Regions from separate parts of the Homo sapiens genome. Here region 2 is linked to region 1. The links are contacts of gene promoters, found by promoter capture Hi-C in blood cells and fetal thymus (Javierre and others, 2016). All regions are on one chromosome and are shown on one strand. The core of a region is centred on a gene start or on the middle of the fragment in contact, and the rest is flanking DNA. Distances in the headings are between cores, read along the strand shown. Region 1 holds the start of AUTS2 (activator of transcription and developmental regulator AUTS2). Region 2 overlaps AUTS2 (activator of transcription and developmental regulator AUTS2).

Region 1 (3,148 bases), core at 328-2,827:
CGGAGCGCGGCGAGGGAGGCAGGAGAGCCGGGCGCAGCCGAGTGGGGTCGTGCATAAAGGGAACCCGGGGGAAGGGGGGTCCCCCTTACCTCCAGCGCTTCAAAAGTGACAAAGCTGGTCATGGCAAATCCATCAATGATGTCCTCTTCTGCCGAGGTGGACTCTCTCCGCTTCCTCCGCGGGGGTCTGGGCCGGGACGGGGCGGAGGACGGGGGCTTCCCATTGTCTTCCTTGTCGGAGCCCGACGACGAGGCGAGTGAGAGCGCCCGGGTCCGGCCAGCCCCGCCGCCGCCGGCCGCGCCGGCCCCCAGCCCGCCCCGGGAGCGCCTCTCCCGGTCTCGCTGCGACCGCGACCGCCGCTTTTTGCGGAGTCCATGGCCCCGCGTCGGGCCATCCATGGTTCTGCTGCGCCGGGGTCTCCCCGCTTGCCCGCCACAGGCTACGGCCGCAGCCACACAAAAAAAAATTGACACCGAGCCCTCCCTCCCCCTTCACGGCTTCCCTCCGCCCCGAGGAGGGCGCGGGGGAGACGGCGGCCGAAAGAAGGGAGAGAGGGGAAGAAAGAGAGGAGAAAGAAAAGGGGGAAGGGGCGGAGAGAGGGGAGGAGGGACGGGGAGCGAGGGCGAGAGGCGAGGAGCCCAAGTGTGGGGCTCCCCACAGCACCGAGGGTCGGAGATGCCTGGGAGCAGCGCCGAGCAAAGTAATGGCTGAACACACAGGTCTCCTTTAGAGGAAAAAAAAATAACTCACCAAGCAAGCAATAAATCAGAATAGCGGAATGCTTTGATCAAGAGACTGGGAGGCTCCGGGGAGCCCTCCCCGCGGCCATTCTCCGCCGCGCCCCCCGCCCCCCGAAAACGCCCGCGCCCCCCTCAACTCGATCCAAAATCGGGTCCGAAAAAGGTCGCGGGAAAAGTGGGGGCAATGAACTTCACCCGCCCCTCGCGCAGGAAAACACCCCCGCCGCCTCTCACACACGCCTCGGAGAAAACTCACTCCCAGGCTCCCAAATTTTTAAGAAATGCAGCCAGGGGAGGCCGGGGCTCCGGAGCGACCCAAGAGGGGCGAGACCCCCCAGAGAGGGGAGCATAATAATGCAATCATTAGCGGAAGAGAGGGCGAAACTGCGAGCGGCGGAGGAGAAGGGAGGCGGAGGAAGGGAAGGAGGATGCTGCTGGAGCAGTTGTGGGGTTTGCTTTTCGGTCTTCGAGGGGGGAGGAGAGGGAGATGAAAGAAGAGAAGAAGCAAACCCTGTCGCTGCCACCCGCCCCCCTCCTCACAAAAATATTTTTTCCAGTCCCAGAGAAGAGGTCACCCTTCCTCAAAAAAGGGAGGGGGTGAGTCAGTCAGTCGATGAGGAAAGCAGAAAGAAATCTCCAGCGGGAGAGACACCGGTGTGCCGCCGCCGCCGCCGCCGCTTCTCTCGCCGCCCCGCCTGAGGGAGAAGCGCAGCCGGGAACGCTGCTCTCGCCGCCGCCGCTAACGCTGCTGCTGCTGCCGCCGCCGCCGCCGAGAAAGCCCCGAGCCGGAGGGTGCACGGCGTGTCCCCGGGCGGCTGCAGCGGGAGCCCGGGCACTGCCCCATCCTCCGCCCGCCCGCCTGCCTCGCGCAGCTCCCGCTCCTCCCCCTCCGCGGCCAGCCCACCGCCGCCGCCGCCGCCGCCGCCCGCCTCAGCCCAACCCCGCGCCCGCCCGCTCGCTCGCTCGCTCGCTCGCTCGTTCGTGCTTTCGCTCGCTCGCTCGAGTGCGCGCGCTCCCGCGCACCCGCCCTCCCCGCGCCTCTCTCGGCGCGCGCTCCCGCCCCCGCGGCCCCGGCCGGCGGGATCACGTGGACGGCTGGGCTCCCTCCTCCCCCGCCCCCTCCCCAGTTGTAGAGTGTGTAGAAAGCAAAAGGCTGGGGGCTGGCCGCGCTCGCGAGCCCAGGGCATGCGCGCTGGGGCGGCCGGGCCTGCGCACTGGGGGCGGTGGGGAGCTGTGAGGGGGGCGGGGGCGGGGGCGTGGAGGGGGCGCCCGCGTGGGGTCGGCCGCGGCCGGGCAGAGTTGGCGCGCCAGGGCGTGGAAGCCGCCGGAGGATCCCGCCTGTCGCAGCGGGGACGCGTGTGGGCCCCTGCTCCCAGGCCACTTCGCGCGCGCGCCCCCCACATCCTCCTCGGGACACTTGTCCCTGGATCCTCTACCCCTGGCCGGCCCGAGGCCGCCTTCTCGGGAAGCCCCACCAGCCCCCAAGGGTGTTTTCCCTTGGCTACCTGCGCTGCGAGGAGAGAAGGGAATTCAGAGAAGGGGTACAAGGGGGGCGTCCCTGGGAGGGGGCGCGACTGGAGGAGACAGAACGGGGAGCGGGTGCCAAAGCGCGGGCCTTTGCTCCGCCTGGGCGCAGTGGGAGCACCAACTGGCAGAGTTGGAAACTTTTCCTCCACGTGGCACCACAGTGCGTGGACGAGCGACCCCGCGCCCGGATGACCCCTGGGATTCCCGCCTCGTCTTCCAGCGGGGGACCTAGGGACGCACGGGCGGCTTCAGATCCGGGAGCGCGAGGCCTAACAGCCGGGGGCCGAACTTGAACCTCGGAGGCGGCCGCGGGCGAGGGGCGGGGCCGAAGGGGCCGGGACCGCCGCCCCAGCTCGAGGACCCGTTAGACCGGCAAACCGCAGTCCCTGCCCCGCGGGCTTCCTTTACTTTTTGGGAGTGGGGGGCGGTTTCCCTGCTTTTTCCACCACAGCCCCTCCTCCCGCCGCAATGTGGCTGATGCTCATAAAAAGTTGTATTAAAGAGCTGACTGCAGCCGAGAATCGATCAACAAAAGCGACCAGCCTCTCTGGGTAAAATAGCTGTGCGTTTTTCAGGGCACTGGAATTGATCTATACGGATCAGAAAGACCGACAGCCCGCTCTCAGCAGCCTCTTGGATACGCTTCACTTTCTGTCCAGGCACATAAACACCACGGCACCAACCCTTCGTCCTCCCTAGTAGCCCATACTTGTGGAGGAAGAAAAGGAAAATAAACTGGCATGTATTAATTACAATGGGCCAGGCACCGTGCTAGAGCGCTGTGTATATGATTTCACCTCTTTAGAATACAAATGTGCACATTTTATTAGTATTACTGGAAGGAGGGTGGTAGAGAAAACAGTAAGGACGTGTTTTCTCTC
Region 2 (3,148 bases), core at 219-2,718, 1.1 Mb before region 1:
CACCTGGATTCGCACTGATTCCGTCTCTTGTCATTCATGTTACCAACAGGAATTAGCATAAGGCATTAAGGGGAAACTCTGGAGGAGAAAAGAAAGGCCATTTTGATGGAAATAAGGGGCAAAGGAATAATCTGCCATCAACTAAAATGCTTATTTGTGTATGGTTTCCCAAGCAAAGCTTAGAAAAAGCCTATGTTGATTTTAGTGTACACAAAGAAACCTTAATCCTTTCAAGGCAACTAAATCACCCCTAGAAAAGCAGCTCAGAAGAAAGGCACCCTGTCAGGGGGAGGGCTATTCACAACCAAATAGATGCCACAAATCACACTCTGTAAGTAAACAAAAATAAGAATGTGGGAAACGTTTGATTGGAAAAGGAAAAAAAGGGGGGGAAAGAACCAGAGGGAAGAGGCAGAGGCGAGCTGTTCATCCGCCCTGAAGACAATCTTTCAGGGCAGTGGCGGCCAGAGTGCAGGTCTTGGAGCCAACTCTTATTCTAGGGCCTGATCCCAGAAAGGGGAAATACATTCCAAAGCTTTCAGTAGCAAATCAGCAGAAGACAGACACAGTCACATGTGGCAGAGGTCCTGGGGGGCTGCAGAAACGAAGAAGCCCTGCCTTTGGTGACCTGCCCTCTACCCCAGTCTCCCTCTCCCATCACCCTCCTTTCTCACAAGGAAACGCCAAGTGGTAGACAATTGTGCATTTTTACACACGAGTACTGTATGCTATGAATGGCACACATCTTCTTTTATTGGGCTTTTAGCATTATGGATAACACATTTATACAAACTTTCAGTCCATCAGAAAATATGATGAAATATAAAACTGGAATACTCCATTATGCAATAAAAAAAGATAAAATTCAATATGACAGTAATTCTGGGAGTAACGGCAATCACATACACCTCAAGGGAACTCTAAACATAATGTACTATTTAAAATTGCAATTGGTTCAAATTCTAAAATAATCTGGGAGCTCAAAATAACTGCACTTGGAAATGTCTTACTAACCAGCTAGCAAAAATGCTAGCCAAGGCAACTACAGAAGGCTGAAATGGTCTCAAATTTCACTTTGTGAAGGCCCAAGTCTGTTCAAGTGCTACCAAGTGTCGCCCATGTAACCCAGAAAGAGATTATCACAGAAAGCACATCTTTACTTAGCAATTATCATGCCAGCCCCTAAATCAGGCTCGACAGTGGAAAGGGGAAGATTAAATAGTTTATATGGTTTGTCCCTTTCAAATTACACACCTTTCAGAGCCAGTGATTACAGACTCCCCTAAATTTCCTTATTTCCAACGATACTGCTAACAAATGAAAGCTGCGCAGAAACCTACTGGCAATGATTTAAGGTTAGTTTTCCCTTAATGTACTGCTATATCATTAGCCTCTCTTACTCTAGATCGTGGTTTGGAAGAAATTAATGGGATAGTGCATATTTAAATTCTGCCCTCTCGCTCGTTTATTAACTTTACAGAAAGCCCACAGCAGAGTAAGGCTTGGTTTATGACCATAATACTGTGAATTCTAAACATCCATTGATTACTGGAGTCTGCAATGCACATCAGCTATTTATATTTCTCCTATTGCTGGGTAGTTGATAAGTAACAATAAAGTTCAGGCATTTTGAGAACTATTCTTCTCGAGTACAGCTTTCTATATTAAAGTCACATAGTAGTAGTGATTAGTCAAATCAGTTTAAATAGGGACTCAATGTATTCTTTTAAAATAAACTGGTTGTTAATGTTAATGCATCACAAAGTATGCAGACTTCCATCTCAAGCAAAAACATGAAACATCAACAGTAGCTTCAGAATTATAAGAGAAAGATCACTCTAGCTCTTCTTTCTTCCTAGGCAATGACAATGAAACTAACATAAAAATAAGCCATTACTCAGGAGAATGAATGGGTCTTACCTTTGTTTACAATAACAGTGTTGAAGAGTTTTTCAGAGCTGGCATCTGATGCCTGAAAAACAAGAAGGGGGAAAAAAGCATTATTATTGTCATTAATATTGTCATCACCATCAACATTCCCATTATTTTAAATCAGTTGACTACATTTTACGAAAGCCTAGCAGGGAAGCAGCAATGTCCCCAAATCATCCATAAGGTGGTGCTAGTTGACTGCTTGAGAGAGACCTGCAGTGCAGCTATTTGCTGGGGGGAAAAAAATCTGATTTTAAAAATGTGTCCTTATTAGACACATTATCTGTGCAAAACATATTTCTATGAGATGATACACAAAGCAATTCAGCTCATTCACATAATGATTTTGCAATTTCGTTGACAGATCATTATTTTGGAAATGTTATGTTTTTCGTGGTATTTGCAGACATGCCAATTTTTCAATTTTCTTTCACAAATCAGAAATGCCTATTATTTAATGCTAAGCTTTTCCTCACTAAAAAGTGTAAGCCAACACTGCCAGAAATTAATTTTTTTTTAAGATTCATCTGATGACTCCAAGATCCCTGTCCCTTGCAGTAACCAAACGACCTTGGTGTTCAAAAAGATGCAAGCCGGCCTGCCCCAAAATCCGACCACTATGCATGCCACCAGCATTATTTCCTTTCCATTTTCTAGAGAACATGTCTGCTAATTATTACAGTGGCTTGAGGAAGGTGAAATAAGCCTGTTTAAACAGTAAAACTAAAGCCAATTTAAATTATACACTAATGTTCTGGAAAATAAACATGGAAGTCGGTTTGAAGGAAAATGCTGTAATGTTTCAGCACTGAATATTTCTAGAACTTGAAAAAATAAAAATTAAGCATCTCCACTACATAACGTGAGGATATATCTGCATTTAAAGTTATAATGGCCAAGCTATATTTGTGCTGTTTTCACTACATAACCCTCATGAGAAATCACTCATCTTTCACACTTGATACACAGAGATGCATATTCTGAGAAAGCAAAAGCCTAGAATGTTGAATAAATATGGAAAAAGGAAATATAGGAAATGGGGGGGGGGAATTCTGAAGTGCAGCATATTTTGACTCTGGGGCTAGCTTTTAGGGACAAAGAGGATATTCAATTTAGTCTTTCCATGTAATACTGACAAAGATGAAATATTCCTGTGTACATCTGGGGGACATGTTCTAGTTCTCAATGCAAGTGATATAGAAAGACAAAATATTTG

The links. Contacts are between HindIII fragments. The CHiCAGO score rates a contact against its expected background, and 5 or more counts as called.
Region 2: a contact is called between a fragment that was not itself captured here and the fragment with the promoter of AUTS2 in region 1, in 1 of 17 cell types (fetal thymus). The highest score is 6.3, in fetal thymus.

Annotation. Positions count from the first base shown.
Region 1 is chr7:69,596,904-69,600,051 of GRCh38, reverse strand. It overlaps AUTS2 (activator of transcription and developmental regulator AUTS2), which reads right to left and starts at 1,577. Exons shown (of 19, transcript NM_015570.4): 1 at 90-1,577. The coding sequence starts at 398. CT66 (cancer/testis associated transcript 66) reads left to right here and starts at 2,428. Exons shown (of 3, transcript NR_148927.1): 1 at 2,428-3,005. RefSeq lists silencers at 264-333, 1,498-1,577, 1,598-2,017 and enhancers at 1,098-1,147, 2,328-2,407. The HindIII fragment of the contact is 6,527 bases long and covers 1-3,148 here.
Region 2 is chr7:70,697,393-70,700,540 of GRCh38, reverse strand. It overlaps AUTS2 (activator of transcription and developmental regulator AUTS2), which reads right to left. Exons shown (of 19, transcript NM_015570.4): 6 at 1,921-1,972. Among named protein-coding and RNA genes, the nearest start is that of GALNT17, 430 kb to the left of the region's middle. RefSeq lists an enhancer at 1-580. The HindIII fragment of the contact is 1,862 bases long and covers 538-2,399 here.